Regions from separate parts of the Homo sapiens genome. Here regions 1, 2, 3, 4 and 5 are each linked to region 6. The links are contacts of gene promoters, found by promoter capture Hi-C in blood cells and fetal thymus (Javierre and others, 2016). All regions are on one chromosome and are shown on one strand. The core of a region is centred on a gene start or on the middle of the fragment in contact, and the rest is flanking DNA. Distances in the headings are between cores, read along the strand shown. Region 1 overlaps ARMC6 (armadillo repeat containing 6). Region 2 overlaps GATAD2A (GATA zinc finger domain containing 2A). Region 3 overlaps SLC25A42 (solute carrier family 25 member 42). Region 4 overlaps ARMC6 (armadillo repeat containing 6). Region 5 overlaps SLC25A42 (solute carrier family 25 member 42). Region 6 holds the start of HAPLN4 (hyaluronan and proteoglycan link protein 4).

What was found. Contacts are between HindIII fragments. The CHiCAGO score rates a contact against its expected background, and 5 or more counts as called.
Region 1: a contact is called between a fragment that was not itself captured here and the fragment with the promoter of HAPLN4 in region 6, in 5 of 17 cell types (M1 macrophages, M0 macrophages, M2 macrophages and 2 more). The highest score is 12.6, in M1 macrophages.
Region 2: a contact is called between a fragment that was not itself captured here and the fragment with the promoter of HAPLN4 in region 6, in 3 of 17 cell types (monocytes, erythroblasts and M1 macrophages). The highest score is 6.0, in monocytes.
Region 3: a contact is called between a fragment that was not itself captured here and the fragment with the promoter of HAPLN4 in region 6, in 4 of 17 cell types (M1 macrophages, M0 macrophages, M2 macrophages and 1 more). The highest score is 10.7, in M1 macrophages.
Region 4: a fragment that was not itself captured here is called in contact with the fragment with the promoter of HAPLN4 in region 6 in 2 of 17 cell types (M1 macrophages and M0 macrophages); the score reaches 10.7 in M1 macrophages.
Region 5: a contact is called between a fragment that was not itself captured here and the fragment with the promoter of HAPLN4 in region 6, in 5 of 17 cell types (M1 macrophages, M0 macrophages, M2 macrophages and 2 more). The highest score is 11.2, in M1 macrophages.

Annotation. Positions count from the first base shown.
Region 1 is chr19:19,053,510-19,057,755 of GRCh38, forward strand. ARMC6 (armadillo repeat containing 6) reads left to right here. Exons shown (of 9, transcript NM_001199196.2): 6 at 643-812; 7 at 1,756-1,887; 8 at 2,282-2,419; 9 at 3,907-4,246. The coding sequence ends at 4,119. Among named protein-coding and RNA genes, the nearest start is that of SLC25A42, 8.4 kb to the right of the region's middle. RefSeq lists an enhancer at 511-570. The HindIII fragment of the contact is 4,281 bases long and covers 1-3,454 here.
Region 2 is chr19:19,503,992-19,507,850 of GRCh38, forward strand. GATAD2A (GATA zinc finger domain containing 2A) reads left to right here. Exons shown (of 12, transcript NM_001384528.1): 12 at 1,353-3,859. The coding sequence ends at 1,483. Among named protein-coding and RNA genes, the nearest start is that of TSSK6, 9.6 kb to the right of the region's middle. RefSeq lists an enhancer at 1,002-1,502. The HindIII fragment of the contact is 3,777 bases long and covers 680-3,859 here.
Region 3 is chr19:19,092,437-19,096,377 of GRCh38, forward strand. It overlaps SLC25A42 (solute carrier family 25 member 42), which reads left to right. Exons shown (of 8, transcript NM_178526.5): 2 at 3,655-3,769. The coding sequence starts at 3,689. Among named protein-coding and RNA genes, the nearest start is that of SLC25A42, 30 kb to the left of the region's middle. RefSeq lists an enhancer at 2,342-2,841. The HindIII fragment of the contact is 6,803 bases long and covers 1-3,941 here.
Region 4 is chr19:19,034,563-19,038,751 of GRCh38, forward strand. All of the region lies in intron 2 of ARMC6 (armadillo repeat containing 6), which reads left to right. Among named protein-coding and RNA genes, the nearest start is that of ARMC6, 3.1 kb to the left of the region's middle. The HindIII fragment of the contact is 2,193 bases long and covers 1,213-3,405 here.
Region 5 is chr19:19,108,982-19,112,748 of GRCh38, forward strand. It overlaps SLC25A42 (solute carrier family 25 member 42), which reads left to right. Exons shown (of 8, transcript NM_178526.5): 8 at 1,588-3,767. The coding sequence ends at 1,895. Among named protein-coding and RNA genes, the nearest start is that of TMEM161A, 28 kb to the right of the region's middle. RefSeq lists a silencer at 1,450-1,639. The HindIII fragment of the contact is 6,628 bases long and covers 1-3,767 here.
Region 6 is chr19:19,261,449-19,265,304 of GRCh38, forward strand. HAPLN4 (hyaluronan and proteoglycan link protein 4) reads right to left here and starts at 1,356. Exons shown (of 5, transcript NM_023002.3): 1 at 1,282-1,356; 2 at 1-115. The coding sequence starts at 1,284. TM6SF2 (transmembrane 6 superfamily member 2) reads right to left here. Exons shown (of 10, transcript NM_001001524.3): 10 at 2,918-3,425. The coding sequence ends at 3,216. The HindIII fragment of the contact is 10,345 bases long and covers 1-3,856 here.

The sequences.
Region 1 (4,246 bases), core at 64-2,563, 210 kb before region 6:
TAATAATAGATAGCTGATTGTGGATGGTAACCATGTGGACAGAATACCTCCACGGCAACACCTAGATTGGCATTGGGTGGAACTGCAGAGGGCTACAGGTGGTCACAGGAACTGACCGTCGCAGCCCTGTGTAGGTGCAGGATCTTCGCCCTCTTGGCGTGAGTGCCGGCACCTGCTTCCTGGTGCAGCGCCTCTGGGCTCCATCTGCGGCTCCTGTGTTCAGTTTTGGCCACGTCAGCCCAGTCCGTATGTGTCCCTCTATGGTTCTGGAGTTTCCTGTTGCACTTAGAGAAGCCATTCCTACCCCATGATCATAAAAATAGTCTTCAGATGTCTTTTTTTTTTTTTGCACTATTATAGTTTTCTTTTTTTAGGTGAGACCATGAGTTGGTATGGAATTTATTTGGGGCATGATGGAAGGAAGCGGGTTGGGGGGCACATTCTTAAGTCTTCCCAGCAGCCAGCAGGGGGCACTGCAGGCCCAGGTAGCCCCTGGTGTTCCCTGGGGCCTTCCTGGTGCCCGTGGCCACTCCAATAGGCAGAAGGGCTGGACTCTTCCAGTGGAGCAGGATCTCCACCAAAACAGAGGGCCCTGCGGCTGGTTCTTCCCGCCCCCACCACCGTCTCCCTTTCTCCCTGCAGCGTTCCTGGATAACCCTGGCATCCTGAGCGAGCTCTGTGGAACCCTGTCCCGCCTGGCCATTCGCAACGAGTTCTGCCAGGAGGTCGTCGACCTCGGGGGCCTGAGCATTCTGGTGTCCCTGCTAGCCGACTGCAATGACCACCAGATGAGGGACCAGAGCGGCGTTCAGGTATGAAGTCCCCCTGGCCCATTGCGTGCTGTCCTTCTGGGTCCCAGTCAACCGGACGAGCTATAGTCAGAACAAGCCAGCCCTGCCTGCCAGTGTCGGAACCAAAGTGCAGTTTTTCTTTTCACGGACCCAAGGGCAGGAACCAAAGGTCGGGGGGGAAACAAACCCACCTGCTCTCCCTTATTGTCCTTTTGCACCAGGAAAAGGATGGTAGGAAGCATAGGGTTGGGGTGTGTCGGCCAAGGCTGGGATACTTGGGTTAGTTCCCGCACCTCTGCCTCAGTTTCCCTAGCTACAGAATAGAGCAGTGTCCCTACTCATTACTCCGTTTAGCAGCCGATTATTGAGCCCTTCTCCATGTGCCCATCCACAGCAGGGAGCCAATCAACAGGTGCCTCCCTATCCAGCTGCAGCTGCAGGAAAGCCCCCAGGGGTGCCACGGTCCTGCGCCCCCAAGCCCAGCTGTTGACGTCAGCCAGCCTCTTTCTGTGCAAGTGGCCAGGAGCTGAATGGGAACCAACTTCAGCAAATGAAGGGATACATTTTGCCCTGTACTCCTGGGCAGTTGGGGGCAGGGTCCTCAGGTTCTCCATCGGGGGATCAGCAGTCCCAGTAGCACCTCATCCACTGTCCTCAGTGCAGGGCAGTTAGCGCCTACCCTGGGTCTGTGGCCGTGGACAGGGGGACCCTGTGCTCTGAAGGCCGGCCTGAGTCACATGCCCCCGCTGCCCCTGTCGGGGTAGGGGATCAAGTCACCTGGATGGTACCGTTTGGACACAGGCAGCCTGAGCCACAGGCATCTGCCACCCCTTCTCGTTAGTCACACCCTGCAGTCACACCATACCTGTTGGTCAAACAGCAAAACAGCCCCACATTCTCCCTCAGAGCCCTCTCCCACAACCAGCGGCCTGGCTGGAGGTGAGCGGGCCTTTCCCTTGTGCAGGAGCTCGTGAAGCAAGTGCTGAGCACCCTGCGAGCCATCGCAGGCAACGACGACGTGAAAGATGCTATTGTCCGTGCTGGTGGGACGGAGTCCATCGTGGCTGCTATGACCCAGCATCTGACCAGCCCCCAGGTACCCACCTCGGGGGGCACACACAGTAGCAGGGTGGTGGCTGGAGTCCCAGTTCAGTTTCTGTATCTGCATGAAGCTCTATTCCCCTGCAGGGCCAGGGCAGGGCTGGTGAGGGTCGTGGGCATTGGCTCTCAAATGCTGACCTGCGTATGCATGACTTTGGGTGTCCTGGAGTTACCACCAGCACCCTGCAAAGATCTGACCAGGCCTATTGCCCTTGTCACCCCTAAGAGCTGAGCTGATATTTTTGTCACCCTGCCATTATTACACAGGAGTTGCCAGAGACCCACGGAGGGGAGGCCGCAGGGTGTTCACCAGGGGTTGGTGGCCATGGCAGGATGTTGTGGGGGGTCTATCTGCTGCATCTCAGCCTTTCTGTGACTGGCCCCTGCAGGTGTGTGAGCAGAGCTGCGCGGCCCTGTGCTTCCTGGCCCTGCGTAAGCCCGACAACAGCCGCATCATCGTGGAGGGTGGCGGGGCTGTGGCAGCACTGCAGGCCATGAAGGCACACCCGCAGAAGGCCGGCGTGCAGGTGGGCAGGGCAGGGGATGGGGGCAGGCAGGCTGGTGTGGGATGTGCAGGTAGGTGCAGAGAGGGCATGGGAGCAGGTGCGGTGTGCGGGTGGGTGATGGGGCAAAGGCTCAGTCCCTATCCCTATCCCTGTCCCTGTCCCTCCCACAGCCGAGCCCCATAGGGCCAACTTCTTTCTCATCTTGCAAAATGTGCTGAATTCTGCCTTCATTTGCCTCCTTCTCTGCCTTTGTTTTTTCTGCATTTACTCTCCTTTTTTGGGGAGGGGGTAGTTTGGAGGGGCTTTCTGGTGAAACCCTGGAAAGAAAGCTATAACACGTAATCTCCTTCTGTGGGTTTTTTTTTTTTTTTTTTGAGACAGTCTCACTCTGTCGCCCAGGCTGGAGTGCAGTGGCGCCATCTCAGCTCACTGCAACCTCTGCCTCCTGGGTTCAAGCGATTCTCCTGTCTCAGTCTCCCGAGTAGCTGGGATCACAGGCATGGGCCACCACGCCCAGCTAATTTTTGTATTTTTAGTAGAGACAAGGTTTTGCCATGTTAGCCAGGCTGGTCTCGAACTCCTGACTTCAGGTGATCCACCCACCTCCACCTCCCAAAGTGCTGGGATTACAGGTGTGAGCCACCGCACCCTTAATCTCCTTTTTTAAAAGTCCCTATAGAGAGATCTGGGGAGAAAGAAGTTGGGGAAGCGTGGATGGGGATCTGCCTGGGGTTTCAGAAAGGTTTCTGCCCCCTCCTTGGGCTGCTGGTCTGAGTTCTGAGTGTGGGACACCCTGTCCACACCTCCCTGGCTGAACCCAGACTCCTCCGTGCAGCCCCCGGGGCCCTCCTCGCCTCCTCACTCCCAGCATAGGATTCTTGGACACACCAGGCTGGGACCCACAGGGGGCCTTTGCTCTCGCTGGCTCTTACTCTGGGACACTGACCCTTACCTGGTCTGACCCCTTGTCCACTTCTGGCCACCCTGGCCAGCAGTTCCCCACTCTGCATGCGCTTCCCACCTGCTGTCCTGCTGGTGGTGGGAGCCACCCTGGGAAGCTTCCAGGCAGTGCCCCGCGCCCACCCACAGCAGGTGCACAGGGCACAAATGTCCACTGAATGGGTAGGGATGTAATTGACAGGTGCCTGTGCACAACCACTGTCTTCCCGTGGCCTCACTGCCCCCTTGCCCTAGGGCCCCTTCCTTGGCTCTGTGCCAGCCTCGGGGGACCTCAGGCTCACCAACTCTGAGGCTGAGAGTTCCAAAGCCATAGGATAGATCCTGGAGCTTCCCTGAGCCTGTTTCCTTGCCTGGGAGTTAGCCATGCCTTGTGGGGCTGCCAAGAGGGTAAAGTAGAGAGATGGGTCTAGCTTGATACAGTATAGGCAGCTGCTGGATGTCAGCTGTGGTTATGATCACCTCCATCTTGTTATGATGAAGACCCTGAGGTCAGAGTGGACCCCACCCCAAAGCCCCATCTGGCAGCTCACAGCTGCTCTCTCCTACAGAAACAGGCTTGCATGCTGATCCGAAACCTGGTGGCCCACGGCCAGGCCTTCTCGAAGCCCATCCTGGACCTGGGGGCTGAGGCACTCATCATGCAGGCCCGATCTGCCCACCGTGACTGTGAGGACGTGGCCAAGGCCGCCCTGCGGGACCTGGGTTGTCATGTCGAGCTCCGAGAGCTGTGGACAGGCCAGAGGGGCAACCTGGCGCCATGACCCCAGGCCCAGTCTGGGCCGTGACTCTGGGTGAGTCGTGTGACTCAGGAATGGGGGTAGATCCATGTCCTCCACTGTCCCCCATTAGTTCTGTCCCCTTCACAATGAGAAGTGTTTTCTGGCAGGC
Region 2 (3,859 bases), core at 1,318-3,817, 240 kb after region 6:
AGCCTAGGAGTTTGAGACCAGCCTGGGCAACATGGTGAGACCTTGTGTCTACAAAAAAATAATTAGCCAAGCACATGGCATGTGTCTGTGGTCCCAGCTACTCAGCCAGGAGGCTGAGGGAGGAGGATCGCTTGAGCATGGGAGGTTGAGGCTGCAGTGAGCACTGATTGTGCCACTGCACTCCAGCCTTGGCAAGAGTGAGACCCCATCTCAAGGGGTCTGGGGCAGCCCTTACCTCCAACTCTGGCCAAAAATTCTGCGTGTGCTGGGTGGGGGCATTTATTTATTTTCCAATTATAAAAATGATATTTGTCCATCATGGAAATTTGGAAAATACAGAGAGAAAAGACTGTGGCAATGGCTTGTATTTTCCTCCCCCAGGTGAACAAATATTACATTTAAGGGTTTTCCCCAGTGTCTCCCCTTCACTTGAGGGTCCTTTGTGGAAATGTGTGTCTTGCGTTGGCTACTTTGTGTGTTAATGAGAGACCCTTACTGGACGCATTAAAATTTGAGCTGGGCACAGTGGCTCGTGCCTATAATCCCAGTGCTTTGACAGGCCGAGGTAGGAGGATTGCTTGAGGCCTGGAGTTTGAGACCAGTAAACAACAACAACAACACTTGAGGGTAGGAGATAGTTTTTTTTTCCTTTTTTTTTTTTTTTTTCTTCTTTTGGAGAAGCTTCTTGCTATGTTGCCCAGGCTGGAATGCAGTAGCGCGATCATAGCTCTCTTGCAGCCTGGATCTCCTAGGCCCAAGCAATCCTCCCACCTCAGCCTCTGGAGTAACTGGGACTACAGGGATGTGCCACCATGTCCAGCTGATATTTTTTTTAGAGATGGGGCCTCACTATGTTGCCCAGGCTGGTCTCTATCTCCTGGCCTCAAGCAGTCTTCCCACCCCCCAGCCTCTCAAAGTGCTGGGATTCTAGGCTGAGCCTCCGTGCCCAGCTAAGATAGTTTTTCATTGCTGCATAGTATTCCATCCTGCATTATTGTCCTGTTGCACACATTTGTTTATGGTTTTCCACTGTTCTAAGCAGCACCGTGGTCAGCACCTTCATTTCTGTAGAACGTAGGTAGCTGCTCACCCTCTGATGATTGCCCCACACTTGGGATTACCTTGGCAGAGCCTGGCAATGTCAAGGCCATTGAGTTGCTGCCTAAATACTCTTCAGCTCTGGGGGGGCCTGGGATTTGAAACGTTGATTGAGGAGTAGTGTGGGTGGGTTTGCAAGGGCTCCTGGGTCCTTAGTCTGTATTGGGGCTGGGGTCTAGGCAGCTATGGCTGGGCTCCTCCCAGGAGCCCTCCTGACGAGGGCCTTCTCAGCTGGTCGCTCTGTTCTGTTGCAGGCGGGACCCTTGCGTTTGTCAGCCCAAGCCTGGCGGTGCACAAGAGCTCCTCGGCCGTGGACCGCCAGCGAGAGTACCTCCTGGACATGATCCCACCCCGCTCCATCCCCCAGTCAGCCACGTGGAAATAGTGCGAGCCAGGCCCCGTGGAAGACGGGCTCCCTCCTCCCCCACCTGGCCCCTGGTCTAGAAGGACCCACTGCACCACCCTCCGCTGGCTCGGGAAGACACCGTGCCCGCCCCAAGAGCAAGCACCGGCCATGCTGCAGAGGCAAGACCTCAATTCTTGGCTGCAAAGTTTCATCAGGGCTAGGGGGCTGGTGCCGCCTCATAGGCAGACGAGGATCATCGCTGGGGGACCTTTCCCGTGGGCTTTCTTCCTTTCTCTCTTTGCCTTTAGTTTGCCCGACACCAGCAGAAAAGTGGACCTTGGGGGCTGGTTCTGCTCCTGGCCCCCTTGTTCAGCCCCTGCCGGCACACGGGCGGCTCACCCTGGACACTGTGATGCGCATGGGCAAGGCCAGCGCCCGGGGCTTCTGAACCGAGCGGGGTGTTTCATTTTTTTGCTTTTCCCTGTCTTAGGCTCCCAGTCTTTGACTGCCTTCCCATGGCGATCTATAAGTTGAAAGATTTTTTTTTTTTTTAATCACCTCATGATGATGGAGTTAAAAGTAAACCGTGCAGACCCTGGGGTCCCTGTTGTACGCTGCATCATCCCGCTGGCCCTGTGCCCTGGAGGGTGGGCGGCTCATGGTGCCACAGCCCCTGGCAGGGACGGCCGGCCCGCCCCCGTGACTGACTGACAGATGCAGGGATGGCCGAGGCAGCCCTCGCTCCAGCTGAACGCCTCCATTGCTGCTTGTTCTGGAGACCCCCGCCCCCGCACCTTCCAGACTTAGCAGAAGAACAAACTGAAGAACAGACCCAGCCAGAGAAGCAGGGATTCCAGAAGCTGCCCATTAAGGGAGAAGGAGAGGATCCGGTCGGCAGCAGCCCTGAGCAGAAAGCTGGAGGGGGGACTGTCGCGGGGTTTTTCTGTTGTGGTTTATTTTATTAAATTTTTTCCTTTTTTCTATTCATTTCGATGGACGCAATCTTAAGCCACCCTGGCCTTGCTCCTGGGAGGTGAGCGTGCACAGGTGTGTGCAGGTCAGGAGGTGCCGTCCAGGTGTGCGGCGAGCCGCTGCGCACAGATGTCAGGATTTCCGTTTGGGTCTAGTTTAGAACCTGTCCTTAAACCTAGGGGTTGCTGTCAGGATTTGCTTTCAGACTTTTTTTTTTTTTGTAATTCCCTTTAGAGTCTACAAAAATGTTTTTAAAAGGATCAGGTCTGCTTTTAGTTTCATTTTTGTTTCTTTCCCGTCCCACTCTTTAAAAACTGGTTCCGTGAGGAAAGGCAGAAGCCGTTCCGTGTCTCTTGCAGGCTGGGCCGGCTTCATGCCAGTGCGAGGGCGTCCCGTGCCCACGTACATACGTATGTCTCCATGAGTTCTGGGCTCCACTGGTTCCAATTGAGCTCCAGCCCTGGTTTTCCTACCCATGCAGTTAGGGACTTTAATTTAATTTTTTTTTTGTAGGGCCACCGCCTTCAAACACAACTGCTACAACATTCTAATAAAGGCTCATTTAACCCCCAGGCTCCTGTCGTGTGAATATCCTCAGTCTGTAGGAAACTTTTTTTGACACAGCATAGAAGACCTAGTTTTGGAAAACATTATCTAATTTTTTGTTGTGCAAATCCCCAAATTTCTCACTAATTTTTGTTTTTTTGTGCATAACTTGGATGGGCTGAAGGAGGTGAGGACAGATTGGGGAAGGGTGGCTTTCATTCCAAGATCCAGGGATTTGGGGAAAAGGAAGGAATTTGATGTTTTTTGGGGTGGGAGGGGAGGGTGTGTTTTTTACACCAAAAAAAAAAAAAAAAATCAAGAGTATGCAAGCATTTCTATTCCTCGCATTTTTCTGTGTGCCTGGCAAATAAATACCTGTCTCCTACGACCCTGAGCTGTTAGCCCTCTCTGTTCCATGACAGGGGCCAGATCTTCCAGCTCCTCCCAGAAGGAGCACCCAGGCTGGCTTCTTCCCACTGAAAGCCCTCCCCAGCGAACCAACCTCAGTTCTATGCAGTGGCTGGGGATCAGGCATCCAGACCGAAGTCACCTCTGCCTGCTCCAGCTTGGGTCAGCTGGGTCTGACCAGGGGGCCAGATCCGAGCCGCACCTGCCGGCCCCCAGCCCCAGCTCCAGCTCCTGACCTCTCCCAGCCTGGCCTGGCTGTTCCTCCAGGGCTGATGGCTGTCAACCCATCCTTGTGAGTTCATATGGACTGCTGCCCCTCGAAAGGGAGAGGGTCGGCCCCATGTCCCCAGGGAGCATTCCATCAGGGACAACGTACATACTGTGATGTAAACTTTTTTTTTTTCCCCCCAGGGGGCAAAAGTGTGAGATGCCTTAATCTTTCCTTCATTTCTGCTGTCTCGAACACTCTAGCCCATTATTTCCTTTCAG
Region 3 (3,941 bases), core at 394-2,893, 170 kb before region 6:
GAGCCCTGGCCCTGGGCAGGTGATCCAGTGAAGGATGGTACCATGGGCACTGCAGGCAGCCCTGTCTGGTGGCTCTTCTTGTTCACAGAGGCTGGGCAGGTGCAGCCAAGGGAGGGTCTGAGGCCACAATGCCCTTCTGGGGAGACTGTTCCTCACAGGACTGTGACCTCCTGAGGAGCTCAGAGCAAGAGCCCACAGGAGGGTGGGAGGGACCCCCTTCGGCCAGGACCCAGGCCTCGGGCACCTCACCCACTGTTGGGGTATAGCAAATGGCTGAATCCTTTCTGGGGAAGGTGACTTTGCAGAACATGTCCAGGCCACCTGACCCAGCACCTCGATTCTAGGAATCAAGGAGTAGAGAGGCTGCGCCGTTCTCACCCAAGCGCCCAAGTGCAAGGACAGCCCCCAGGGTCTGTAGCGGCAGGGGTGGTGCTGGGCAGTAGTCAGACATGGCTGATTGTTGTGGGGGGCGGAGTGAAACAGACGCAGTGCATCCCATGGGCTGATGATGAAAGATGCCGACCCCCAGCAACCGGCTGGGAAAGGTCTTTAGGACCTGGTTTCTGTCTGTTTGCAAGCAGTTTAGTTTATTTTTATTTTTTGAGACCCAGTCTTGCTCTGTCACCTGCGCTGGAGTGTACTGCTGAAATCACGGCTCATTGAAGCCTCAACCTCTTTGGCTCAGGTGACCTTCTCACCTCAGCCTCTCGAGTACCTGGGACCACAGGTGCATGCCATCATATCCAACTAATTTTTTTCTCTAGAGACGGGGTCTCACTATGTTGCCCAGGCTTGTCTCAAACTCCTGGGCTCAAGCGATCCTCCTACCTCAGCCTCTCAAAGTGCTGGGATTCCAGGTGCGTGCCACCACGCCCAGCTGAGAGCAGTTTTAGATTTACAGAAAAATTGCAAAGGCTGTACCAAGTTCCCCGACACCGCACACATCTAGCGTCCCTTACGCATAACCTCTCACAGTGCTGTGCTGCATTTGCCTCACTAATGAACAAGTGCTGAGATGGTATTAATATTAATGGAGCTCCACACTTTATTCACGTTCTTCCATTTTTCCTGAATGTCCTTTCTCTGTCCAAGGATCCCACCTGATCTTTAGTCCTCACATCTCCTTAGACTCCTCTGGGCTGAGACGGTTTCTCAGGCTCTTTGTTTTTGGTGACCGTTACAGTTTTGGGGAGCAGTGGTCAGGGCTGCTGGAGAATGCCCCTCCGGTGGGATGTGTCTGGTGTTTTTTCCTTTCTTTCGAGACAGAGTCTCGCTGTGTCACCCAGGCTGGAATGCAGTGGCGTGATCTCGGCTCACTGCACCCTCCACCTCCTGGGTTCAAGTGATTCTTCTGACTCAGCCTCCTGAGTAGCTGAGATTACAGGTGCCTGCCACCATGCCTGGCCAATTTTTGTATTTTTAGTAGAGACAGGATTTTGCCAGGTTGGCCAGGCTGGTCTTAAACTCCTGAGCTCGTGATCTGCCCGCCTCAGCCTCCCAAAGTGCTGGGATTACAGGCGTGAGCCACTGCGCCCAGCCTGATGTTTTTCTCACGGTCAGATGGGGTGATGGATCTGGGGGAGGAAGACCCTAGTCGTCACACTCCATCAGAGGCACATGCGTCCACCTGACTTATCCCAGCCAGCGTTGTCCTGGATCACCTAGCCCAGCTGGGATCCATCAGGTTTCTGTGCTGCAGTCACTGACAGCCCCCTTTCCAGACTGCACTCTTTGGAAAGAAGCCGCTAAGCGCAGCCACACCTGAGGGCAGGAGGCATGGCCCCTCTTGGAGGTCCGAGCTGCTGTGCTATTTGGGAATCCTTTGCCTGGGAGATTTGTCTCTTCCCTACCATGTACTTACTTACTCTGTCATTTCTTTATATTATATGGACTCATGGTTATTTTATAGTTCAGGCTTTCATCCATGATGCTTTATGTTTTTTTCCATTTCTACTCAAACTGTTCCAGCTTTGGCCATCAAGGGTTCTTTCGGTGGGTGCCCATGACCCCCTCGCCACACCCATCTGCTTTGGTTTCTGTTTCTGAACATGCCCTCCATGACTGGCACCTCCACGTACGTGCTCTAGGCTCTTCCTTTCTCTCTGGCCCCATCTTTGAAGCAGGTGTTTCTCCCAGAGCCAGTGCCCATGGGTCCATGTTCACTAGGAGAGTCAGCAGTGGAGGCTGGTGTAGCAGAATCCCAAGTGCACTTTGTACAGCGTCACTCACCGGCACTGATGCCTGCTCTGGGGCCTCTGCACCCTTTGCTTCACTTTGCAGTAATGCGTTTTCATTTACTGGATGATTTTAAAGCGTGGGAACTAACCAGGCACGGTGGCCATGCCTGGAATCCCAGCATTTTGGGAGGCTGAGGCCAGAGGATCGCTTGAGCCCAGGAGTTCCAGACCAGCCTGGGCAACATAGTGAGTCACTGTCTCTACAAAATATAAAATGAAAAATAAAAATTAGCCAACCCAGTCGGACGCGGTGGCTCATGCTTGTAATCCCAGCACTTTGGGAGGCCACGTTAGGAGGATCACACGAGGCCAGGAATTCAAAACCAGCCTGGCCAACATGGCAAAACCCTAGCTCTACTAAAAATAAAAAAATAAAAAATAGCTGGGTTTGGTAGTAAACGTCTGTAATCCCAGGTACTTGAGAGGCTGAGGCACAAGAATTACTTGAACCTGGAAGGCGGAGGCTGCAGTGAACCGAGATCATGCCACTGCATTCCAGCCTGGGCTACAGAGGGAGATTCTGTCAAAGCAAAAACAAAAACAAAAAAAAACACCCTTAGCTGACCAAGTGGGAGGATCACTTGGGCTCAGGAATTTGAGGCTGCAGTGAGCTATGATTGTTCTACTGCACTTGAGCCTGGGTGGGGGAAAAAAAAAAGGCCAGGTGCGGTGGCTCATGCCTGTAATCCCAGCACTTTGGGAGGCTAAGGCAGGCAGATCACCTGAGGTCAGGAGTTCGAGACTAGCCTGGCCAACATGGTGAAACCCCATCTCTACTAAAAATAAAAAATTAGCTGGGTGTGGTAGCAGGCGCCTGTAGTCCCAGCTACTTGGGAGGCTGAAGCACAAGAATTGCTTAAACCTAGGAGGTGGAGGTTGCAGTGAGCCAAGATCGTGCCACTGCACTCCAGCCTGGGTGACAGAGTGAGACTCCGTCTCAAAAAAATAAATAAATAAAAAATAAAGTATTTTGGTGGACAGAGACCCTCGGGTCCGAGCTGACACAAGCCCACTGGACGTTTGGCCTGACAGTGGTATTGGCACCGAGCACCTCGGTGCCCACTGGATGTTTGGCCTGACAGTGGTGTTGGCACTGAGCACCTCGGCCACGCTGGCCCCACAACCCGCTGGTAGCTGTGTGACCTTGGCTGGCTGCTTAACTTCTCTGAGCCTGTTTGCTCCCTGGGCACCAGATTTGGAAAAAGAACAGACTGTTTGTGAGGATTACATTCCAGTACCAACAAGAAAGGCTTTTGTAAATGATTAAGCAGTACACACAGGACCGTGGCTGCGGAATGCAGTTGAGGGCATCCCTCCCCACGCAGGGAGCCAGAAACTGGGATAGGAAAAGGCTGGTGGAACACCCACCATCTCTCAGGATCTCGCCGTATCTTACCACCTCCCCTTACCCCCCCAGGACCGAGTCTCCTGCCATTCCGAGCAGGCCTGGTATGGGTAATGGTGTGAAGGAAGGCCCGGTGCGATTGCATGAGGATGCTGAGGCTGTCCTGTCCTCGTCCGTCTCATCAAAGGCAAGTACCCCGGCCTCCTGGGATGGGTGTTCTCCTGGGGCCCCAGCCTCCCCACCCCCCCTCCCAGGCTCCCTGCCTCCTCCTCCCAGCCTCTGCACCCCCTCCAAACAGGCTCAGGGATTCCTCTGCTGTGCTCCATGCAGCCCATCACAAATCACCCTGTACCTAGGAT
Region 4 (4,189 bases), core at 1,059-3,558, 230 kb before region 6:
TTTAGAGTCCCCAGCATGTCATGGCACACGTTTAATTTTCTTTTGAGACGGAGTCTTTCTCTGTCGCCCAGGCTAGAGTGTAGTGGCATGATCTTGACTCACTGCAACCTCCACCTCCCGGGTTCAAGGGCTTCCCCTGCCTCAGCCTCCCGAGTAGCTGGGACTACAGGTGCGCAACACCGCACCTGGCTAAATTTTGTATTTTTTTTTTTTTTGAAACGGAGTCAAAAGGAGTTCAAGCGATCTCCTGCCTCAGCCTCCTGAGTAGCTGGGATTACCGGTGTGCACTATCTTGCCTGGCCTTTTTTTTTTTTTTTGAGACGGAGTCTCGTTCTGTCACCCAGGCTGGAGTGCAGTGGCGCAATCTCAGCTCACTGCAAGCTCCGTCTCCTGGGTTCAGGCCATTCTCCTGCCTCAGCCTCCCGAGTAGCTGGAAATACAGGCACCCGCCACCACGCCCGGCTAGTTTTTTTGTATTTTTTTAGTAGAGACGGGGTTTCACCGTGTTAGCCAGGATGGTCTTGATCTCCTGACCTCATGATCCGCCCGCTTCGGCCTCCCAAAGTGCTGGGATTACAGGCGTGAGCCACCGTGCCCGGCCCTGGCTAATTTTTTGTATTTTCAGTAGAGACAGGATTTTGCTATGTTGGCCAGGCTGTTCTCAAACTCCTGACCTCAAGTGATCTACCCGCCTCAGACTCCCAAAGCGCTGGGATTATAGGCCTGAGCCACCGCACCTGGACAGCACAGTTTTCTTGATGAGCAGATTCCTGGCTGAGAGAAGGAAACTGGCTGCCAGTTAGGGGCCTTACTCATCTTCTGTTTTACCCTCAGCATGCCCTGATGGATAATAGGGACTGGTAATGCTGCTTCCCCCTTTTAGCCTAGGCTGTTCTCCAGGTAATTCTTACTTGGCCATCTCCAGGCACCATCTTATGTGTTCCAAATCTGTACTTTCCTCCTCCAACTCAGCCCTGTACCAGATCTAGGGGACCTTGGAGGACTCAGGTCAGGGGTGGTCACAGAGCCAGACCTTCCCAACTCAGTCAGCTCAGGGGTGGGTGGAAGGGAGGGGTTGTGGGTTGGGGAGTGAAGCCAGAGAGTGTGGGCTCTCTGAGTGGCCAGGAAAGGCAGCCACCTGGAAGGGCTGGCAGAAGCTCCACAGAGGACTGAGAATCCGAAGTATTTGAGACAGGTGTCAATCAGTTAGAAAGCTTATTTTGCCAAGGTTAAGGACATGTCTGTGACACAGCCTCAGGAGGTCCTGACAACATGTACCCAAGGTGGTTGGGGCACAGCTTGCTTTTATACATTTTAGGGAGACGTGAGATATAAATGAATATGTGTAAGATGGTCACAGGTAGAGACAAATGATTGCTTTCTTTTGAGTCTTTGGTCAGCCTTTCACAGAATACACGATTTATATGGGGTACAGGGCAGGTAGAGGAATAGTCATTTATGCCTCAGTCCGACTCATGAATCTGAGGTTTTGTTTCTTGTTTTTTGTTTTATTTTTTGAGATAGAGTCTCGCTCTGTCGCCCAGGCTGGAGTGCAATGGCGCAATCTTGGCTCACTGCAACCTCCACCTCCCGGGTTCAAGCAATTCTCTTGCCTCAGCCTCCTGAGTAGCTAGGATTACAGGCGCCCACTACCACGCCCAGTTAATTTTTATATTTTTAGTAGAGACGGGGTTTCGCCATGTTGGTCAGGCTGGTCTCGAATTCCTGACCTCAGGTGATCCACCGGTGTCAGCCTCCCAAAATGCTGGGATTACAGGCATGAGCCACGGAGCCAGGCCAAATCTGCATTTTTACATAAACGTTAGGGCAGAGAGAGCAACTGGATATGCATTTGTCTCAGGTGATGACTTTCTGTCCTGCACTTGTGAAGATCACCTGTCAATTTACATTGCCAGGGTGACATTCAACAAAATTGTTTTCAGGTAAAGATCTTGAGGGCCACAAGGAATTTCCTGGCCTGGCCGGGGTGGTGGGAGTGGAGTCCCCTACTCCTTACTCCCTACTGAGAAACTCTTTATATTACTCTTCCTTCACCTTTAACCTTGGAAATCCATAGCAGCCCTTAAAGAGCTCCCTTTTCTTCTGGGGCAGAAAGGAGAGGGGCCTATCTGCAAAAGAGTGAGATGGGACTCCTGCATAAACTTGCTGAATTGCCTCTTAAGCAACAAAGGAAAGGAACAAATAGCTAATTTATTGAGCCTGTCCATATCCTGTTCTGAGGAAGGTATAGGAGTTGGCTGAATTTTTCACTACTGCCCTATGAAGTAGATTCGTGTTTATCTCTGTTTGACACATGAGGGAATTGAAGAAAAGTGTATCTGGCTGGGCGTGGTGGCTCATGCCTGTAATCCCAGCATGATGGGAGGCCGAGGCAGGTGGGTCACCTGAGGTCAGGAGTTCGAGACTAGCCTGGCCAACATGGTGAAACCCTGTCTCTACTAAAAATACGAAAATTAGCTGGGCGTGGTGGCGTGGGCCTGTAGTCTCAGCTACTTGGAGGCTGAGGCACAAGAATCGCTTGAACCCAGGAGGCAGAGGTTGTGGTGAGCCAAGATCGTGCCACTGCATTCCAACCTGGGCGACAGAGCGAGACTCTGTCTCAAAAAAAAAAGAAAAGGGCATTGAAGTGGAGGGCATGGGAACTGGGTTCTGCAGGCTGGCTGCGAGCCAGTCCTTCTCCCGTCAGGCAGTGTGCAGTCCATGGTGGGCATCTGCAGGAACACAGATGGAATGTGTATATCCCATGCCACTGCCTGAAAAGAGAAGCATGGGCCAGAGTGACCTGTTTCTTTTTCCTTTTTTTTTTTTTTTGAGACAAGGTCTTACTTTGTCACCCAGGCTGGAGTTCAGGGATATGATCTCAGCTCACTGCAGCCTTGACCTCCCTGGGCTCCCACCTCAGCCTCCCAAATAGCTGTAACTACAGGTGCATGCTCCCACACCTGGCTAATTTTGGTATTTTTTATAGAGATGGAGTTTCGCCACGTGTCCAGGCTGGTCTCAAACTCCTGGCCTCATGTGATCCTTCCGCCTCGGCCTCCCAAAGTGCAGGCCACCATGCCTGGCCTGAAGTGGAAACTTGATAATTCCAGAACGGAAACTTGATATTACTGCAATAAGCAAGGTGGATATATTGAAACAATTAAAATTTAAAAAGTTGTTAACCTCTGTTAGGCTCTGGACCTAAGGCCTGTTCCTCCTTTTGTTCCAAAGGGACGGTGGCAAATGTTAGGTTCACTCGTACCCTGTCAAGACCTTCTGGTTAAGATCATCTACAGCAGGGGTCCCCAATTCCTGGGTCACAGACCCATACTGGTCCAGTGGTCCCTGGCCTGTTAGGACCTGGGCTGCACAGCAGGAGGCAAGCGTAGGGTGAGCGAGTGAAGCTTCATCTGTATTTACAGCAACTCCCCATCACTTGCATTATGCCTGAGCTCTACCTCCTGTCAGATCAGCAGCATTAAATTATAGGAGCACGAACCCTACTGTGAACTGCACATGCAAGCGATTTAGGTTGGGCACTCCTTATGAAAATCTAATGCCTGATGATCTGTCACTATCTCCCATCACCCCCAGATGGGACTGTCTAGTTGCCAGACAACAAGCTCAGGGCTCCCACTGATCCTACATTACAGTGAATAGTATAATTATTATATTACAATGTAACAATAATAGAAATAAAGTGCACAATAAATGTAATGAGCTTGAACAATCCTGAAACCATCCCCACCCTAGCCCCACCATATCCATGGAAAAATTGTCTTCCACGAAACTGGTCCCTTAGGCTAAAAAGGTTGGGACTGCTGAGCTACAGGTTTGAAACAGAATTGCAAAGGGATTTGGTGTTTTTACCAAGAGTTTTATCTTACTTAACTCTATGTCTTGTTCCCACCTGTCAGAGTGGAAGGTACTGCCCAAGGTTAGTGGGTCATCTAAGTGTTGATACCTACCCCTGGTTTCCAGGGTATGCCTATACTGGGTTTTACTTGTTTGTTTATTTATTTATTTTTTGAGACGAAGTCTTGCTCTTGTTGCCCAGGCTGGAGTGCGATGGCGTGATCTTGTCTCACTGCAACCTCCACCTCCCTGGTTCAAGCCATTCTCCTGCCTCAGCCTCCCGAGTAGCTGGGATTACAGGCGCCCCACTAATTTTTGTATATTTAGTAGA
Region 5 (3,767 bases), core at 816-3,315, 150 kb before region 6:
AGTCTCTCTCCTGAGGCCTCTTATTAGAAGTGAGGGTTGCACCCCTCAAGACTGCTTTGAAAATACTTCTGTATGTATTTATCTGTGGCATGAACAAAACCATGTCACCTTTCACAGGTATAAAAAATGCTCCAAGTGGAGTCAGCTCACCCGGGAGTGCAGCTCCCAGCTCAGCTGGTTTGGGGTGCATCCACCAGCATCTGTGCTCTGTTCCGCCTTTTTAGTGGCTGCACAGTGGGCCTTACCTTCTTGGGGTGCCCTTTGGCTGTTGCCAGGTTTTCTGTGATCAGCCGACATCCAGGAGCTCGTCTCCTTGTGTGACTGTAAAACCCCATTTTCGGTGTTTCTCTCTGGAGTGCTTTCCAGCCCCTTGACCCCACGTTCTCACCCCACGTGATGCCATCAGACCCCTTGTTTTTGCCCACCTGGTGAGCAGATCACAGTGTCTCCTGTCTGGCTGTTTTTTTGAGACGGAGTCTCACTCTGCCGCCCAGGCTGGAGTGCAGTGGAACGATCTCAGCTCACTGCAACCTCCACTTCCTGGGTTCAAGCCATTCTCCTGCCTCAGCCTCCCTAGTAGCTGGGATTACAGGCGCCCACCACCACACCTGGCTAATTTTTGTGTGTTTTTGGTAGAGACAGGGTTTCTCCATGTTGGCCAGGCTGGTCTCCAATTCCTGGGCTCAAGTGATCCGCCTGCCTTGGCCTCCCAAAGTGCTGAGATTACAGGCGTGAGTCACTGCACCCAGCCTTGGCTGTTTTAAATTCCTAGTTCTAAATTTACTATTACAAATGTTTAAAGTACCCCTACTGACCTGTTGCTGCTCCTTCCTCCTCCACACCCACACACCCCGTTTAGACCCGCAAGACAGAGCAGGGTGAAGTTCATGGTCACTTATGTCCACTCTGTGCAACAGCTCGCAGGGGCTCCCCAGGGAGGGCGCAGGTCGGGGACCAGGCACGGGAGCACCTAGAATGTTCCTTTACTAGACGTGGAGTAGAGCTGATTAGATGTGAGCAGTGGCTCTAGGAGTTGGTTCTATGATTCTCTGTGTTTCTGCCTTTTAAGAAATTTTATTTCTCGGCCGGGCTCGGTGGCTCATGTCTGTAATCCCAGCACTTTGGGAGGCCGAGGCAGGCAGATCGCCTGAGGTCAGGAGTTTGAGACCAGCCTGACCAACATGGAGAAACCCTGTCTCTACTAAAAATACAACATTAGCCAGGCGTGGTGGTGCATGCCTGTATTCCCAGCTACTTTGGAGGCTGAGACAGAATTGCTTGAACCCGGGAGGCGGAGGGTGCAGTGAGCCGAGATTGGGCCATTGCCCTCCAGCCTGGGCAACAAGAGTGAAATTACATCTCCAAAAAAAAAATTTTTTTTATTTCTCGAGTTTGAGTGAAAGGAGCGACCCGGAGGTGAGGCAGTGGGGCGTGTGGGTGCGCATGAGTGCGAACACACGTGGGGGTGCAAGTGCATGTGTGTATGTGCACGCAGGTTGCTCCTAGGGGTGCAAAGGCGCGCGCACGGGTGCGGGGTGCGCGCCCCCTCGCGGCGCCTTCACGGCCCTCCCGCCCCTCGCCCTGCAGAGTACAGCGGCCGCCGGCAGCCCTACCCCTTCGAGCGCATGATCTTCGGCGCCTGCGCTGGCCTCATCGGGCAGTCGGCCTCGTACCCGCTGGATGTGGTGCGGCGGCGCATGCAGACGGCCGGCGTCACGGGCTACCCGCGCGCCTCCATCGCCCGCACGCTGCGCACCATCGTGCGGGAGGAGGGCGCCGTGCGCGGCCTCTACAAAGGCTTGAGCATGAACTGGGTCAAGGGTCCCATCGCCGTGGGCATCAGCTTCACCACCTTCGACCTCATGCAGATCCTGCTGCGGCACCTGCAGAGCTAGGGGACCCTGAGCTGCTCTCAGGACGGTGGACCGGTGACCCCTTTGTATTCTGGGCCCATGGAACGGTGGGGGGGTGCGCTTGATTCTACTTCAGGAGGCACATGGGGCGCTTTATGGAACGAGCAGGTGGGCCTGAGGGGCCTGGGCTCAGAGTCCACGTCCAAACGCAAAGCTGGCAGCCCTGGAAGTGCAGTGTTGGGGCGATGGTGTGGGGGGTCCCGCAGCTCCCCTCTTCCTTCCTCTGCAGACGCTGGCGCTGTCTGCCGGAGGTGTTGCCCAAAAGGCCCTAGTGGGGCGTGGTCAGCTCCACCTCCTGATCCTGTGTGTCCTCCGACATGCTGCTGATTCTAGTGACCCCTGTCCCCACCAGGCTCAGAGCCAGACCGCGCCTGGACCTTCTTGTTCTGACTCCACGTGCCTGCCCGGCCTCCAGGGTGCGGGGGCGCCTTTCTTGCAGGCGGACCCTGCCCAGGATGGGGCCAGCCTCGTGCTCAGCTTTGGCCACAAATGCAGCCCCTGGCCCACCCCACCCTGCCGGCCCTGCCTTCTCCAGTATTTCCCACATGGCCACGACTCCTCAGTCACTAGAGCCTCCTGCTGGGAACAGTGTCCCCCAGAGCCTCATGTCTATCCTAGACCCTGCAAGCAGCTGGGTCCCCAAGAGTGCATCTCCCCCTAGAGTTGCCTGCCCATGCCCACCTGCTTTGTAACCTTCCCAGGAGATTCATGCTTGCTCTGCACAGCAGGGCTCGAGGCCCAGGCCATGACACGGAACTGCCTCAGGTTTGGGTCAGACCTGCATCCTGGGGCATCTGCTGAAATGTGAGCACACAAACCACCTCCTTTGGCCCAGAAGCCCCCCAGGCCTAGCATCTCAGTGCCCCAACCCTCTGCCCAGCTGTGGTATCCAGCAGGTCCTTGGGTCCCCACTTGAGCAGGCACTTGGCTGGGATATGGAGCAATTTAAAGCCCACAGGGGTTGTTCAGTTTCTATGAAATGGAGCATGGGGTGCCTGCTAGCCTCAATCCCCCGAAGTGGGAGCCTCATGATAGAGTATAGCTTGGGGGTGGGAGGTGAGGAAAATCTGAGGTACCCAGGGGAACCCCCAGCTAACTGGTCTCTCAGAGGAGTCCCCCAGGGCCCGCCAGCTATCACAGGGACTCAGAAACACCCATTTCCTAATGACATGGTGAGTTTCTTGATTTCTTTTTTTTGTTTGTTTTGTTTTGGTTTTCAACTTGGCTGACCCCGGGTCTATGATCTATTCACATCGAACCCCTGACTGGTCTGCCTGGTGCCAGGGTGAGCGTGACCGTGAGTGTTGCTTTCGACAGCTGGCTCAGCACACGCTGTGTGAAGGGATCTGAGCTTGTTCATCTCCAGTCGTGACTTCATTTCCCTTCCTTCTGTCCTCCTCCTGTTCTTGCCTTGGACCTGCAGGTGTGCAGACCGCTCTCTCTGCCTTCCTTGCATGTGGCCACCAGCCATCCCTGATCTTGTCCCCAGAGGCCCAGGCAGCCTGTGATGGCTGTGAGGGGCTGTCCCACTGTGTGGGTATCCCTTACCCAGCACTTAAACTTGGCAGGAGAGGCAGGGCAACCCTCACAGGGAGATGGGAGGGCACCCAACTCCCACAAGCATGCAACAGCAGTAGGAATTGGGGGTCTGCCCCAGGTGGGTGAGACCAAATGAGTGGATTTGGGGCCACAGGCTAGGCAGGAGAGACAAGGGGTAGGTGGGAGGGTCCCCCAGTCCCTGCTGACCCCAGTGTGTCTCCCCGGAGATGGCTCCTAGCTGAGTGGGACCCGGCAGGAGTTGGGGACAGTGCTGTCCCCCACCCCTGCACACAGCCAGGCCCTCAGGCTCTGCGG
Region 6 (3,856 bases), core at 106-2,605:
GCACGTGCACGACCTTCTTCCGGCCACGCTGCGCCCCCGCAGGGGCTGTGAGCAGCAGGACGCCCCAGGCCGCGGCCCAGAGCGCGCCGGGACCGAGGGCCGCCCGAGCGCACACCTGGGGGGCGGGCACGGGGCGCTCAGTCCAGCCTCCCAGCCTTGGCTTTTCGGAGGCCTGGCTCCCTCCCGGGCCTGCCTTCCCCACAGCGAGGACCTCTCTCACGCCCATGTCCCCACCCTTTCCGGGGTCCTGGAGAACTCCCCCTCCTCCTCTTGGGACCTCACATCCTAGCTTCTGCAAGAACCCACGCCCCTAGACTCCCCCCCGCCCTCAGTCCTGCCCCAGATCCCGCCTCATTCCCCCCCACCCCAAAACCCGAGGCTCGCTGCCCCGCCCCCTTCTGGCCCTGGCCCGGGCCGGGGATAGGGGGGTGGGGAAGAGCTGGAGGAGCGGCGGCAGCAAGGTTATCCGTGCGCCAGGAGACTGCAGCAAACCGGGCCGGGGCGGGCAGGGAGGGGGGAGAGCTGGAGAGAAAGAGGGAGAGACGCGGGGAGAGAACAGGGACAGAGAGAAAGGCAGGGAGAGGCAGAGAAGAGAGTGCGCGACACAGAAAAAGGGGAAGGGAAGAGAGAGAGGCAGAGATGGAGAGGGAGAGACAGATGGAAAAGAAGAGACAGATGTAGAGGGAGAGACAGAGATGGAGAGGGAGAGACAGAGAGGCAGAGGGAGAGACAGAGGGGCAGAGGAAGATACAGAGATGGAGAGGGAAAGACAGAGATGGAAAGGGAGAGACAGAGAGGAAGAGACAGAGAAGCAGAGGGAGAGAGAGAGAGGCAGAGGAAGAGACAGAGATGGAGAGGGAGAGACACAGATGGAGAGGGAGAGACAGAGAGGCAGAGGGAGACAGAGAGGCAGAGGGAGAGACAGAGAGGCAGAGGGAGCGACAGAGAGGGAGAGGGAGAGACAGAAAGGGAGAGGGAGAGACAGGAGAGTGCCAGAGGCAGAGAGACTCAGAGAAGAGGAGGGAGAGATAGGGACAGGGAAAGACAGAAACGGAGAGGAGAGGAAAAAGGCAGAGAGGATGACAGAGATGGAGAGAGGCAGGGAGAAATGGAGAGGGAGAGAACCTAGAGTGCCAAAAAGAGAGATCAAAGAGGGTGAGAGACAGAGAAAAGGAAGAGACAGAAGAAACTCAGAGGGATATAGATTCAGAGGCAGAGAGATATAGAATCCAAGATTGGGGAGACGGGGCACACACCACCCGCGCCCGCAGCCCCACTTACCATCTTGCCCGCGCGGCCCCCGCCGAGCGGCCCCTACGCACCCGGACTGCGCTCCCCGCACACCCGGTTAAGACTGGGCAGGTCCCTGCAGGCGGCGCAATCCCGGCGTCTGCCTGCAAGGGGAGGAGGAAGGCGGGCGAGGCGGGGTGTATTAAAGGGGCCGCGGGGGCCCACGCTCCCCTGGAGCAGTGGCTGGAGCGCGGGCGGAGAAAGAAGCGCTCTGGACTTGGAGTGCAGAGCTAGTTCCCTCACCCTGCTAGCTGAACTTAGGCCAGGGAAGAACCTCTCTGAGCCTCAGTTTAACCATCTTTGAAATGGAGGAGGGGGCTGAGTCTTCTATCTTGGTTACTGTGCTTTGGCAGGGGACCTGGGGGATCTGGTGAAAGAGATCATTTGGCCTGCAGGCCACCTGTCCATTGGGTAGTCATAGTGGAGTCCTGGTCTCCAGCACCCCAAAGGCGCTCCCTGTGCAGGGTGGGGGCCTCACGATAGTCACACTCTGCTGTGGACTGGAGCCACAGGCCCCAATTCAAGTCTGCCCCTCACTGGCTGTGAGACCTTGGAGGAGACAGTTGGCCTCTCTGAGCCTGCTGCTGACTCTTTGGTGAAGATCCAGTAGCTAGACATACAGTAGATCTCCGGTAGGGGTTGGGAGGGGCAAGAAAAAGGGACATCTAGGCCGGGCGCGGTGGCTCACGTCTGTAATCCCAGCACTTTGTGAGGCCAAGATGGGAGGATCACCTGAGGTCAGGAGTGCGAGGCCAACCTGACCAACATGGAGAAACTCTGTCTCTACTAAAAATACAAAATTAGCCAGGTGTGGTGGCACATGCCTGTAATCCCAGCTACTCAGGGGGCTGAGGCAGGAGAATTGCTTGAACCCAGGAGGTGGAGGTTGTGGTGAGCCAAGATCGTGCCATTGCATATCAGCCGGGGCAACAAGAGTGAAAACTCCGTCTCAAAAAAAAAAAAAAAAAAGAAAAAGAAAAAGAAAGAAAGAAAAGGAAAAGGGACATCTGGTCAAGGTCCCTGACTTACTCCAGGCCCAAGTCGCCCCTAAACCTGGCCTTTCACCCAATTTCAAAAAATCAAACAATAGCAAACAGTGAGTCTTTCTCCTAACACCTTGGCTTCCTTCCAGGACTCAGTTTCCCCTAAAATGAGCCCAACCCGACCAGATAGGAGAGGCAGAGTTGTGGTTTCTGTGGTCCAACAGGCTGGGGCTCCATCTCTTAGCTCAGCCATGCCTTGGGGACTGAGCGGGGGAATGATCTCAGACCAGGACCTTCACCTCCTGCAGCCTTGGTTTCCCCATCTGGAATATGGAGTGAGATCCAGCATGTAGCAGTCAAGGTATACAGTAGGTGCTTAATAAATGTATCATGCTATTAGTTATGATTTATTGGTAGAGCAGGAACTTTTCTCTCTGGCCATGACCTTGGGCAGGTCTCTTGTCCATACTGAGCCTCGGTTTTCCCATCTGGAAGATGAGCCGTGCATACCAACCAGAGGCCGCCTTCTGCTATCCCAGCACCTCTCACTCCTGGCAACCACGATGGCAGTGATAGGTGGGCCCTCATGGGGGCCAAGAAGAGGATCCCTTGCCCCTGCACCCTGAAACACTTAGGCAGTGATATTTTGGAAATTGAAAGGGTTTTTACTGAAAGGATCCATGGGGGGATGATGGGTAAGTTCTGGAAGGGGTAGAAGCGTTTGTGTGGGAGTTGGAGCATGGTGACAGCTGTGGGAGGCTCTCCTTGCAGGAACACTTGGTCGTTGGTCTCCATCCCACCCACTGGACTGAAACTACCATAGCCAAGACTAAAGACACCCGGAGATGTCCCTCCTGTCTCTAAAACACCCAACCCCCGCTTCCCCAGGTAGGGCTGACTGGGCACGTAAACAGAGTCCTGGGTCCTGAGTCCACAGCTCTCTCAATGCTGCTTCTTGTGGAGGGCTAGGGGGTCGGAGGGTGGTGGCTGGTGGAAGAATGCGGGCCACTGAAGGCAACGGTAGGCCAGCAGGTGGGGGCCCAGCGCATACAGCAGATTGCACACGAAGAAGCAGCCCCAGGTGTCCTCAGGCACACGGTAGGTGAAGGGTGTGCGCAGGTGCATGGAAGCCCCCATGTGCGAGAACTGTGCCTGGTAGCCAGACAGGGAAGATGGATGTCAGGGGCCAGGAAGGAACTGAAATCCCAGCATCACCGACAGCCCCCCAGGTAGGTCAGGCAGAACCCAGGGGATGCCCATCCCCACCTCTCGGGCTTTGCTCATCTATCTGTTTCCCATCTCCAGTCCATCTATCTGTTTTTTTTTTTTTTTTTTTTTGAGACACAGTCTCATTCTGTTGCCCATGCTGGAGTGCAGTGGTGCAATCTCGGTTCACTGCAACCTCCGCTGCCTCCTGGGTTCAAGTGATTCTCGTGCTTCAGCCTCCTCTGAGTAGCTGGGACTACAGGCGTGCACCTCTATGCCCAGTTAATTTTTTGTATTTTTAGTAGAGATGGGGTATCATCATGTTGCCCAGGCTGGTCTCGAACTCCTGAGGTCAGGCAATCCATCCATCTTGGCCT